3 separate regions of the Homo sapiens genome follow, and all the other regions are linked to region 1. The links are contacts of gene promoters, found by promoter capture Hi-C in blood cells and fetal thymus (Javierre and others, 2016). All regions are on one chromosome and are shown on one strand. Each heading gives the region's core, a stretch centred on a gene start or on the middle of the fragment in contact. The rest is flanking DNA. Distances are from core to core; before and after follow the strand shown. Region 1 holds the start of FAM83F (family with sequence similarity 83 member F). Region 2 has its middle 150 kb from the start of CACNA1I. Region 3 has its middle 130 kb from the start of CACNA1I.

Region 1 (4,284 bases), core at 611-3,110:
ATAGAGAGGGAGGGTAGAAATGTGCGCAGTGGAAAGTTAACCCTTCCTTCTGGTAGCCAATGTAGCCAACTATCTAGATCACCCCAACTACCTAAATCACCCCTTCCAGGAAGATGAGCCTGAGCACTGGTCTTTCTAGCTCTATTTTCCCTCCTCAGGCCTCTTCAGCCTCGAGGGGAACCAGGACTCCAACCTCACTCACTGAGTGGAATTTGAGTGGTGAACCCAAGCCACTCCTGTTGTATTATTCTGAATTGGGCACCAAAAGCTGCTGCTGTTTCTTAACAAATCTCAGTGTAGGGCAGCCAGAGTTAGCAAATAAAAGTACAAAACGTTCCCATTCAATTTGAATTTCAGATACACAACGAAGAATTTTTCAGTATCAGTACGTCTCATGTCATGTTTGGGATAAGCTGATACTAAAAAGTTATGTGTTGTTTATTGAAAGTTCAAATGTAGTGGGGCATCCTACATTTGATCTGGAAGCTGCCCAGGACTCCCACCCAAAGGCATAAAGATTAAAGTCTTCCACCTGTTCCACAGTGGACTGGCCTCACCAGCCACCCTGGAAACAGCCCCTCCTTCCAACTCTCAAGCAGGACACATATGCTAAGTAGGAGCCCTTTCCTGAGCTGCCGAGTCAGGTGACCTGCTGTGCCAAGGCGCCCAGCACAGGGCCAGGCACACAGTAGGTCCTCAATATACCCCGTCCCCCATTCATTCCAGGCAGCTGGGGCCTAGTACCCGGCCCAGGAGAGGCTGTGACTGTGAGGGCGCCAGCTCAGCTTTGACTATGGGAGGAGAGGGGTGGTCCAAGGAGCAGCATGGCAGAGGTGGGACCGGGAAGGTCACCGCCACCCACTCCCTGAAGTTGTTTTGACGATCACATGAGAAAGCGGCTCGGGATATGTTCTGGGCAGCACGTAGGTTATCATCAAGACCTTTGAGTGGTGCATTTTAACCACAGGGCCTCGGCCCCCAGTCTTCCCTGGGGAGGAAGGCTGGACAGGGAAGTTTCAGAAGTACAGAGCAGAGCCAGTGCCTCTGAACGCTGGAATACCGACGGCTGACATCTGTCCAGCACCTTGTAATTTGCCAAACACGTTCCCAGCCATTCGCTCTACAGGCCTCACTGCAGCCCCAGGAAGTAGGGGCGGGTTGGGGCCCATTTTCCAGAGGGTGCTCAGGGCGGCCTGCCCCGGGCCCTGCCTGGGAGGTGGGGCCCGGTCCAGGGGACTGGGGCCGAGGTCCCAGCGGTGTGGGGGCGAAGGCGGGGGCCTACCTTCTGGGCCTGTTGGATCATCTGCCTGACCACCTGCTTGAGGTGCGGCGCCTTCTCGTCCTTGGGCGGGTGGGTGAAGAGCGTGACCCGGCTCACGCCGCGGTAGAAACCAGTGTCCGTCCAGCCCAGGTCCAGAGGAGGCACCTCGGTGTCGGAACGGTCGGGCCAGTAGGCCAGGGACTCGCCGGACTCAGCCGGCGCCGGCGCGGGGGCCTTGGCCTTGGCCTTGCTCTTGCCCCGGGCGTTGGCGGCGGGGACGGCGTCCTCGTAGGGGCTCCAGGCGGCCCGCAGGGCCTGGCGCTCCGGGCTGGAGAGGAAGTCCCGCAGCTGCTCCTCCTTGAGCCGCTCGCGGTAGGCCTGCTCGCCGCCGCCCAGCAGCGCCTCCAGCGCGGCCCGCCGCCGCTCGCAGTAGTAGAAGGCGGCCTGCGCCTCGGTCACCTTCTCGTTCACGTGCGCCTCGTCCAGGCAGTTCAGCTGGGACTCGGCCATGGCGCCCCGGCCCCGGCCCCGGCCCTGGCCCCGGCCCCGCCGCGGTCCGAGGTCCCACAGCCGCACCTGGAGCCGCCGAGGGGCGGGGCGCCTCACCTGGCCGCGAGCTCTGCCCCGGCCCGTCCCGCCCCGCCCCGCCGTCGGGGAGCGGCCAATCCGCGCGGGCGTGGCCGTCGGGCGGGGAGGGGCCGCCGCCTCCGCCGGGCTCGCCGGGACCTCCGGGCGGCCTGGCGGACGCGGTCGGGCCCGGGCCTGCAGGGCCCACCAGCCGGGGCTAGAGTCCCTGAGGGGACGCCCCCAGGGGGCGGGGCCGTCGCAGACCCACGTGCGGGCTCCGGCCCCGACTCCTCCGCGGGGTAAAGGTTCGCTGTCCGGCCCTCGCTGCCATCCGCCCCCGCCGGCCGCGTCGCGGGTACGAGTTCATTTTCCGCGCACGTGGAGTCCGGAGCACGTGTTCTGGCCCAGTGGCCTCTGGGGCCGCCGAGCTGACCCCTTCCCCGTCGAGGGTCCGGTGTTGGTGGGGGGGCCTGCTGCAGGACGGGATTGTGACGGCTGAGGAGCGGGCAGGGGGTGTGCAAAAGCGAAATGCTAATGAGAGCTCGAGCTCCCCACCCTTGCGTCCCAGTTCTGAGATCAGAGCCCTTCTGGGCTGGGAGTCCAACACCTTCACTGTAAAACTTTCTTTTAAAAAATAGCTATCCAAACAGAAATGATGTAAAGAGCAGCAGTGGAATTCCCCCCGCCCCCACCTTAATTTGAAGTAGGGTGTGTGGTGTCTCTCCGTGTGTGTTTGGGCAAGATAGGCTGCCAGAGACATGATTACTATATTAGTGATTCAAAATGTATGTTTGAGCTCAAGGAAGGAAACCGCACGTGCGTGCACACCACACACACGCACACACACAGCAGCGGTGGCAGCAGCTCTGCTGTTTCCCATCGGATTAAATACAATCGTCTTAGTCATTAACATATTATGTTGTTCATGCACTGCTCTACAATTTGATTCTCCACATTCAAAATATTTTCAGATCATAACAACTAAAGGTTCACATTTCTCTCACTTTATAGCGCAGCATCTCAGAGCTGGAAGGAGCTTTTCAAGCTCCTCCAACCCCCTCATTTTACAGTTGAAGAAATTGAGGCCTAGCAACGTGTGCGTTGCCCAGGTCTCCCGTGAAAGAGGCAGAGCACGGGGACTGCAAGGTTTTCTGTCTTGGAGGTCTTTCGCTGACATCACGGCCGCCTTTACCCTTTCTCCTTTTCTTGTGAAACGACAGGTTATTGGGGACCTGGTTTTCACCCCAGGGGATTTGAAAAGGTCACTTACCATTTCTAGGCCTTCCTTTCATGCTCTGGAAAAAATGAGAGTTAGATTTTCAAATGTCTGCACATTATTGTTATTATTATTTTTTTTTTTACAATAATCAGTTCTGGCATCCTGTGTCAGCCCAAAGATTGGGAGTGGTGAGCAGCAAGGTGTCCATCACCTCACTTGTCCTTTACCCCTCTTGGGAACTGGAAAGCTTCACTCCTGGTAATGCTCCACTCTTAAGTACATATAGACAGATTGTGTCCTTAGATGGGAGAGCACTTAGTTTATTACGACTTGACGCCCTACAAGATGCCAGACTCAATAGTCTGGAGACACACAGGAGCTCAGGGCAGTGGGAGAGACAGACAAACACAGAAGAGGATAGGAGTAATGAGAGTGGTTTCTTTGGGCTTTTTTTGTTTATTTTGTTTTGTTTTACTTTGTTTTGTTTGAGACGGAGTCTCACTCTGTCGACCAGGTTACAGTGCCGTGGTGCAATCTTGGCTCACTGCAACCTCTGCCCCCTGGGTTCAAGCGATTCTCCTGCCTCAGCCTCCGAGTAGCTGGGGTTACAGGCACCTGCCACCGTGCCCGGCTAATTTTTGTATTTTTAGTAGAGTTAGGGTTTCACCATTTGGCCAGGCTGGTCTTGAACTCTTGACCTTGTGATCCACTCACCTTGGCCTCCCAAAGTGCTGGGATTACAGGCATGGCCCAATAGTGTTTTAATAAACACAGTCAGAAATGCTTTGGGAGCAAATGGGCTCAACAAACATTTACTCAATGCCTACCATGTGCCTGGTACACAGTTTGCACCCAGTGTACATTTCTTAAAGAATTTGAGCCAAGAGAAAGGTATGTGGAGGGAGCTTATGGGAATATGAAGGAAGGAGCAATCTGCCCAGTGGGAACTGGGTAAGAAGGGCTTTGTCCAGCAAGAAGGGATTTCAAGTGGAGCCTAAAAGGAGGAGAAGAATTCAAGGTGGAGAGAGGGAATGAAGACATTATAGGTGGAGGGACTTAAAACTGAGTTTAGTCAGAACATTATGCTGGCATCAGGCTTATGTGGACTCAGTCACTTCAAGATGCCTTTCAGAGCCTTAGTCTCCTCATCTGCAAAATGGGATAATAATGCTTAACTCTCCTGACCTCCCACGTTGGTGTAGGGATTAAACGAGAACACTTCTTTGACTTAATTAGT
Region 2 (4,240 bases), core at 344-2,843, 270 kb after region 1:
ACATCCTGGGCAGAAAGGGGATCCTGCGTGCAAAGGCCCTGAGGCCAGGACGAGTTTAGGAAGGCCACTCAGGCAGGGGTGTCCCGAGCACATGGCAGAGCCACAAAGAAGGACGTCGGAGACCAGGAGGAGTTTAAGAAAGTCACTTAGGCAGGGGAGTCCCGAGCACATGGCAGAGCCACACAGAAGGACGTCAGAGAAGCAGGCAGGGAACTTCATCCCTTTTCTAGTCTCTTGCTGTCCTTTCTAGCACATAAATCCTTTAAGGACAAGGTCACCAGAACCTAGCGCAGTGCCTGGAGCATCCCAAAGATCTGGGAAACACCTGCTGGGGAAAGAATTCCATCAGGGTGGGACAATGGCCACACCAGAGACAGAGCTGCCCATCCCCTAGAGGGGGCTTCTGAAGCTCTGACCCATTCTCTCCTTCTCATTCTCCTTCTGAATTCCCTGTCTCCTAGAAACTTCTCTCACTCCATGACATCAGCATCACTTGGTGACATGTTACAATTTCCAAAATTACAGCTGTTTTTATATTACATTGCACAGTGGCTGCTTTCTAACAACCTAGAGAAAAAGCCTCTTTTACAAATAAGCTCTCTCCAAATCACAGTGTGGAATGGGCTACAACTAATTCCATCCATTATACACTGATTGCCTTCAGCTCTGCCTCCAAACCATGGCAGGTGCTGACCTTGGCTGGGTTTCAGGGTGACCTTCACTTTGAGGACATGGATCTTGCTACCCACACACAGTTGAGTCACGTCATAAGCACACCTAACTCCATATGCATACTTCAGTGATACCTGCCTGCAGAAGAGAAGGAGAGAGTGATTTAAATACACCAGTGAACGCATGCCACAGAAAGCCAAACCTGGAGGTGTGACTCAGGGTCCTGCAGGGCCCTGCTGCCTCTCCTGGTGTGAGCATCCCTCCTTCCTCAGTCTGCAAGATCCTTGTGTTTAAAGCTCTGGGAGGTTTGAAGACACCTGTTCTGCAAGGAGACGCATTCAGTGCCCACTTGAAGGACAAGTGGATCTGGCTGGACTGTTGAGAGCCAGGATGGCAGTCTCAGCGTGAGGCTTAAGGGGGCTGGCGGGAAGGGCAGGGAGCCGTCACTATAGCTTACAGCTGAGTCATGTCTGCTATTCGGGCTCACTTCAGAGCAAGTCCCTGAGCCACTTGTGCAGAGACAGGTGGTGGGGAGACAGGAGGAAGCCTCTGTCTTTTAGCTGGGAGTCCAAAGACCTAGACGCTGGCCCTGGCTTGGCATGAGCGAAGGGACCCTGCTGTACATGAGGGCCTGTGAGGGGTGGGCTCAGACCCTCTGTGGGCCCTTCCAACTCTGCCATTTCTGTGATTCTGCAGGGAGGTGTTGGGAAATAGGCAGGAAGATGTAGGCCTGCTGTAGGAAGGTGGAGACCTACAGGTGATCTTTCCCCTGACTGGCTAGTGGGTGGAGAACAGCTCTGGGTCAAAGGAGGCATGGAAGTTTGCCTGCCAGGCCCTCCCCAGCAAAACTGGGAGGAATTAGCATCCACCCCAAAAGGAATCGGCCTATTCCAAACATGCCTTCAAGAGGGTCCGCTTCTGAGGTCTGTTCCGCAGAGGACCAGGCCGGTGACGGTGAAGCCAGCCACCTTCCTGGCTCAGGAGCTCCTCCTCACCCACGGCCTCTGTTAGCATCCCATGTCCTGGAGACGGCGAAAGCAGAGCTGAGGGGACAAGGAGTTGGGGCCAAGCAGGGCCAGGGCCCAGCAGGAACATTAGGAAGTGTCTCAAGCCTCAGGTGGGGTGGGGCACAGTCCTTCCTGCCCGAGTTCTCTTGTTACCAGATGGAAGGTCTTGGCTGTGAGTTGTCCAGGTTCTTGGCATGTTGAACAAAGAATTGAACAAAACACACAAACAATGCAACAAAAGAACAGAGTAAGGAAGGCACAGATGTATCAAAGCCCAAAAGTACAACCCACAGAGCAGGAGCAGGCTGGAGCAAGCGGCTCAAGAGCCACTATTAGGGTTTTATTAAGTCGCAAATGTTTGGTAACACCCCTAGGTGCCCTTTAGAGTCCTCCAATTGGTTACACCCTATGAAGGATTGGCCTGCAACCAATCAGAGGGTGAAGTGGAGACTTCGCTTGCAGCCAATCAGAGGCTGAGGTGGAAACTTCTGCCTTGTTATGACAGGAGGGAGGGTGTGGCCTGTGTGCTGCCCAATCTTGCCTAGAACTGGCTGCACCTGTTGTTCTTTTGCTTCTGCCTTAACCGTTGGTTACCCTAATTCCCTTGTTCTCCTGCCTCTTCTGGGAAAGGGAGTGATGGGAGCAGGCTGGGTGAGGTGAGGGAGAGACAGGCCTACGGTGGCCAGAAATGGCTCCCTGCAGAGGCTGCAAGGCTGGCCCAAGCACCAGGTCAAGAATGCCAAATGATTCCACCAGGGCTGGAAGGGGGCCAGAGACTGCAGAGCCGCATGGCTGGAGGGTGAGCCTGGAGTGAGGGTACACCTGGAGTGAGGGTGCACCCAGCCCAGAGCCCTCCCGAGGGGCTGCTCTTATGGCCATGTGGAGGTGGGTCCAAGCCATGAAAGCAACAGAGAATCCAAGCAGGCAGGGGACTTGGGACAGAACTAGGGTTTCCCAAGCACCTACACTGTGGGAGGCACCATACAGAGGAGATTCAGTTCCATGAGTCATGGACCCACGTGGTCCAGCCTCTGAATAGAGTCACAGATAAGAAGTCCAGTCCAAATTGTCAGAAGTGATAATAAAGGAATTCTCATTCTTACCCTGACTTCTCTTTAGGCAGATGCAGCTGTTCTTTCTGGGCTTTGGAGATCCCTTTGTCCCACCCACACTGCTCCTGGGCTGCCCATTTGCCAAAGCCCCACCACCTCCCAAGTCTCCACCTCGACCTTTAGGCTTCAGCCGCAGCCGTCTTCCTCCTGCTCAGCTGGATTCGGAAGGGCAGGCCTGGAGCCCTGAAGACTGGAGACTGGAGTGAGGCCTCCCAACGCCGGGCCCAGGTGGGCTCCATCATCACATGGGGGCTGGGAGAGTCCAGGGCAGGCAGGTGCAGGCCCTGAGCCAGGGTTACCAGCGGGAGAGGAGAGGGAGGGCAGGAGGCAGAAGGCGGGCACGGTCACCCCTGGCCCATTTGTGAACCTGTAAAGTGCTGCCTTCCCCAGCTATGGTGAGGAAACTAGGTGCAGGGAGGTTAGGAGTGGCCCAAGATCACCCAGCCAGCGAGAGTGAGCATCAGGAATTGAACTCGGGTCTGTCTGAAGCCAAGGGTGTCTTCCTGAAACTTCATTATCTACACGTCCTATCAGAGAAGAGATGCAGAGAGAAGGAAGCTAGAGCTTAAGGGGTGTGTGTGTGTGTGTGTGTGTGTGTGTGTGTCAGGTGGGTGGGGTGGAGGGGAGCATGAGGAAGATGAGACAAGGTCATCAGAAAGGAGAAGGATGCCAGGCACGGTGGCTCACACCTGTAATCCCAGCACTTTGGGAGGCCGAAGCAGGTGGGTCATTTGAGGTCAGGCATTTGAGACCAGCCTGGCCAACATGATGAAACCCTGTCTCTACTGAAAATACAAAAATTAGCTGGGCATGGTGATGCGTGCCTGTGGTCCCAGCTACTCGGGAGGCTAAGGCAAGAGAATCACTTGAACCTGGGAGGCAGAGGTTGCAGAGAGCCGAGATCGTGCCACTGCACTCCAGCCTGGGCCACAGAGTGAGACTCCATCTCAAAAGAAAGATGGAGTTGCTGAGGGAAGGGGAATGAGGTTGAGGGAAAGAGAAAAGAAAGACTTTTGGAAGCATAAACCTCAATGCCAGACATTTAGACCCTGTTAGAGATTGTCAGGATCTTTCTCAGAGATGTTTTTTTAAGCCATGGTAGCCAACCTATGGTATAGCTTTGGCACAGGGCCAGGGACAGCAAAACAGAAACAATCAAATGGGCACCCCACCCTTGAATGTGTTCCCAGAAACCTCCCAACCACCCTGCAGGGCGATGAGGCCCGTGGAATGGTATAAAAACCACAGTGTTCATGTCACAGTTTAAAGACCCAGCACGTTCCATCTGTAGCTGTGCACCATGATGGCTTGCTATCAGGCTCTAGGGCCCAAGTCTACTAAAATTCTGGTGCTTCTGTGGCTTTGGGATTGGATAATGATAGAAACCTTGGCAGAGGAAGGAAAAATGGAAAGACAATCAGCGCACCAGGAACCCAGTGCAGCCCGCAC
Region 3 (4,461 bases), core at 1,627-4,126, 290 kb after region 1:
ATTTAGTATTTTTCCGGAAAGCATCAACATCAGCATCATGGGAAACGCTAGTATCCTGATGGACGCTCAGTCTCTTTTATCCCCCAAATTAGGCATTAGGACAATTGTTCTAGGAAGTGAATGTGTGTTCAGCTTCTCCCGCACAGTTGACCATTTCTTTGCCCTCTCACTCTTGCCTCTTGGGACCTTCCTTCTGGAAATATTTTCCTTTAGAAATGGCTCAAGGGAGGCTCCAAGCTCACTTGGGATTGTCCGAAGATGCCGACATCTTGTTCTTGAAAGATATTTTTACTCAGTACAAATGCGAGGTGGGCAGTTATTTAACCTGTTCATACTAGTGTTTGGTGACGTTGTTTTCCAGGCCTGTGGTCTCTATTAGTGCGGTCAGGAAGTTGGTCTGCCACCTAGTTGCCATGCATTTGTAGGTAATTAGTCTCCTCAGCAGCTTCTTTTGAAACCGTCTCTTTGCTATTGTATATCACTGTGTTGGGTCCAAGCATGGAGTTTTTGTTTAATCCCTTGCTCATGCTTTATCATGTTCTCTGAACTGAAATTCGTGTCTTTTAACAATTCTGGAAAATCCTCAGCCATTATCTCTTTGAACAGCAAGTCTCGCCCCTCTCCCTCTTAGCGCTTTCTGGAGCTGCGAGCGGATGAGCATTCTCACTTCTCGCTCTGACCTTCCCTCTGAGCTTCCACCTCGCAAGTTCTGTCCTGCGTTGTACCTTCTGGCGGTTGCCTCAGCTCCATCTTCTAGTCCGCTGATTCCTTCCTGCACTGGGTCTATTTGCTGTTCAGCCAATGCACTGAGTTTCTCATTTCACTTATTACATTTTGCATTTCAAGAAGTTCTGTTTGACTCTTTTTTTCATATCTCCCTGAACACTTTTGTAGTCTGTTTTTCCTTGTCTATGCTCTCCATATTTTAAATGTCTTTAGAGATGGAGTCTCACTCTGTTGCCCAGGTTGGAGTGCAATGGCACGATCTTAGCTCACCACAACCTCTGCTTCCTGGATTCAAGTGACTCTCCTGCCTCAGCCTCCCAAGTAGCTGGTATTATAGGCAGGCGCCACCATGTCCAGCTAATTTTTTGTATTATTAGTGGAGATGGGGTTTTGCCATGTTGGCCAGGCTGGTCTTGAACTCCTGACCTCAGGTGATCTGCCCGCCTCAGCCTCCCAAAGTGCTGGGATTACAGGCATGAGCCACTGTTCCCGGCCTAGGATTTTTAAACTTATTTTTATTCTATTTCTGATCATTCAAACGTCAAATCTTTTGATCTAGTTTTACATGTATGGCTTCTTTCAACTGCGACTCACTGTGGAATGTTCTCTCCTAGGTTTTGCAGTTTGAGGCTGTGGGCCTGGCAGTGTTCTGTAGGGACCCGGTAGGACCCTGATGAGGGCTTGCTCTGGCCGTGTGCCCAGGTCCACCAACCCAACACCTCTTTAGGTTAATTTCTTGGCTTGGGGTTTCTGGACCACTCCAAAAATTTGAACCCGATCCCGAGCGATCCGCAGCCTAAACTGACACATTCTTAGGAAGGAATCCTTTTATCCACATTGATTGCAGAGGCCAGGACAAATGAATATCATTGTCATTTTTATTTGCTAGAAGTTTGTTGTTTTAGAGCCCTTACACTGAAGGTACAGCCTTTGAGGACTCCAGCTTGAGATAAGAGTCTTACGTGCCACTCCCAACCTTTTCTCAGCTCAAGATGTAGTGTCTTCTGTTCCCTGCACAAGGTCCCAGGCCCCAGATGTGGGCAAAACGCCTCAGGGCATCCAGAAGTCAGCGTTTGCTTCCTGTCTGGCATCAGTTTCCTCTTCATTTCTGGCTCTCAGAAATTTTCCTTACTCCCTTGCAAACTTAGCTGTGCGTTGAATAAAGAAGTTTGTGGCAACTTGTCCTGGATTTTTAGGGGTTTTGTAGCAGAAGCCCTCCTACCCCACCCCCGCCCCAGAAAGTCTGACTGTAGCAGAACAGGTCTCACTGCTTTACCAAACCATTTCTTCTTCCTCTGGGCTCACAGCTGGACCGCAGAGCCAGACTCCCCTGCACTGAGCACGGCCACGTGTCTGCGTTCTGTCCAGTGGGATGTGGGTGGGAGTGGTGGGCACCATTCCTGAGCCTGGCCCATAAAACCCTCCCACACAATGCTCCATGCCCTTCCCCTTCTTCAGTGGCCTTAGAAGCCTTAGGGTGACGATGGCAGAGCCATGAGATGGGTGTGCTTGTGTCCCTCATCACTGTTCACAGGAGAGCTGCCTGCCATGTCAGGGGTTAACAAGCAGGACGAAAACCCCTGGGACCAAGGGTGTGTCAGCTGGTGGGACAGCACAGTCCACGGGCCCACCATTTGCCAGAATCAAAGCCTCTCTTTGTGATCCCACAGCTTAGTGTCACATGCAGAATCGCTGTCTGGCGTAGGGACGTCAGGATGTTTATCTGGCCTGGCTCTCAGAAGGTGGGACGGCGGGTTACAGAGCCCAAGTGGCCCCTGGCACTGCAAATGGGACACTGGTGCTGAGAAAGATTCCGCCGCTTCTTCCCACCAAGGCAAAGCTCTAGGCAAGGCCCCACACTGGCCACCGAGCTCCAGACAACGCAGCTGTGGTCCTGCTCTCCAGGAATTCCTAGGTAGTCGGGGACACAGGCACACACAAAGGCGGCCCAGGGACAAGAGGACAATGGCCACAGCGCGTCTGAGGACAGGGGCCGTGTTACTCAGGCAACAGCACATTCAGGCCAAGGCTCCAGGGCCTGGGGGAGGACTATGCCTGTGCGGGGACCACATGGTCAATAGCACTGGAGTCAGAGCAGCAGGCGGCCTCCCCTGGGCTGGAACAGGTGGGACTCTAGGAGCAGCCCAGCCTTACCTGGCAGGAGACAGTGCACACTCCAGAGATGGGACGGACCCAGGGCTAGCAGGACTAGAAATTTCATCTCCAAAGCCATCGATGACACCTTGCCTGCAGTCACTGGAGTCCTCAGGCCACCCACTGTGCAAACATGTCATCAAGAAGCCATCAGAGCTCTAATGACTACAAAGAAGCTCTTCTCCCAGGGATGAGGACTGGCTTCCTGCGGCTGGCAACATTCCCACAACAGGCTCTGCAGTGACACAGCAGGCCAGAGGACGGGTGTCAGGACTCCCAGCTGGGAACCCAATGCACGCAGCCTTCTCTGCTCCTCTCAGCAGCCCGCCAGGAGAAGTGCCACCAGCCTGCCGGCTGCCAAGGCTCAGGTGCGGCAGATGGGCCACCACTCACACGGGCTGGAGCCAGGGTTTGAACCCAGCCGTACCCTCTGATTTATGTGTCAGGCTGGCTGGGCTACGGTGCCCGGTTGCTCAGCCAAATGCAAATCTAGATGTTTCTGTGGAGGTATTTTGTGGCTATGACTAACACCTACAATCAGTTAACTGTGAGTAAAAGCAATTACCCCTCGTCACCTGGGTGGGCCTCATCCAATCTGCTGAAGGCCTTCAGAGGAAAAACAGAGGCTTTCCAAAGAACATAGAATCCCACCCAGAGACTGTGACATAGAAATCCTGCCTTAGAGGCCGGGCGCGGTGGCTCACACCTGTAATCCCAGCACTTTGGGAGGCTAAGGCGGGCGGATGTGATGGGCGAGGTGATGGGGAGTGATGGGGAGGTGATGGGGGAGGTGATGGGGAGTGATGGGGAGGTCGTGACGGTGAGTGAAGAAGGAAGAGGTGATGGGGAGGTGAAGGAGGAGGTGATGGGGAATGATGGGGAGGTGAAGGAGGAGGTGATGAGGAGTGATGGGCAGGTGATCGGGGAGGTGATAGAGAGTGATGGGGAAGGTGATGGGGAGTGATGAGGAGGTGACAGCAAGTGAAGGAGGAGGAGGTGATGGGGAGGTGAAGGAGGAGGTGATGGGGAGGTGAAGGAGGAGGTGATGGGGAGGTGAAGGGGAGGTGAAGGAGGAGGTGATGGGGAGGTGAAGGAGGCAGTGATGGGGAGGTGAAGGAGGAGGTGATGGGGAGGTGAAGGAGGAGGTGATGGGGAGGTGAAGGGAAGGTGAAGGGGAGGTGATGGGGAGGTGAAGGGAAGTGAAGGAGGAGGTGATGGGGAGGTGAAGGAGGAGGTGATGGGGAGGTGATGAGGAGTGATGGGAGAGGTGATGAAGGGGAGGCAAAGGAGGCGGTGATGGGGAGGTGATGGGGAGGTGAAGGGGAGGTGAAGGGGAGATGATGGGGAGTGATGGGGGGGTGATGAAGGGGAGGTAAAGGAGGAGGTGATGGGGAGGTGAAGGGGAGGTGATGGGGAGTGATGGGACAGGTGATGAAGGGGAGGTGATGGGGAGTGATGGAGGAGGTGATGGGGGAGGTTTCCCCTACCTTCCATGCTGCCTTGGGAAACGGAGAGCTCCTGGACTGCACCTGTTCAGTGTTTATCCACAGTGACCGGGAGGTTCTTGAGAAAGAAAGTGCC

Evidence for each region. Contacts are between HindIII fragments. The CHiCAGO score rates a contact against its expected background, and 5 or more counts as called.
Region 2: a fragment that was not itself captured here is called in contact with the fragment with the promoter of FAM83F in region 1 in 1 of 17 cell types (M0 macrophages); the score reaches 5.5 in M0 macrophages.
Region 3: a contact is called between a fragment that was not itself captured here and the fragment with the promoter of FAM83F in region 1, in 5 of 17 cell types (M0 macrophages, non-activated CD4 T cells, M2 macrophages and 2 more). The highest score is 6.9, in M0 macrophages.

Annotation. Positions count from the first base shown.
Region 1 is chr22:39,992,530-39,996,813 of GRCh38, reverse strand. It overlaps FAM83F (family with sequence similarity 83 member F), which reads right to left and starts at 1,860. Exons shown (of 5, transcript NM_138435.4): 1 at 1,283-1,860. The coding sequence starts at 1,771. It overlaps LOC124905155, which reads right to left. Exons shown (of 2, transcript XM_047441700.1): 2 at 2,046-2,466. The coding sequence ends at 2,046. RefSeq lists a silencer at 1,818-1,937 and an enhancer at 1,512-2,145. The HindIII fragment of the contact is 8,768 bases long and covers 1-3,296 here.
Region 2 is chr22:39,722,477-39,726,716 of GRCh38, reverse strand. No RefSeq gene overlaps it. Among named protein-coding and RNA genes, the nearest start is that of CACNA1I, 150 kb to the right of the region's middle. The HindIII fragment of the contact is 6,457 bases long and covers 1-4,240 here.
Region 3 is chr22:39,698,424-39,702,884 of GRCh38, reverse strand. No RefSeq gene overlaps it. Among named protein-coding and RNA genes, the nearest start is that of CACNA1I, 130 kb to the right of the region's middle. The HindIII fragment of the contact is 7,974 bases long and covers 1-4,461 here.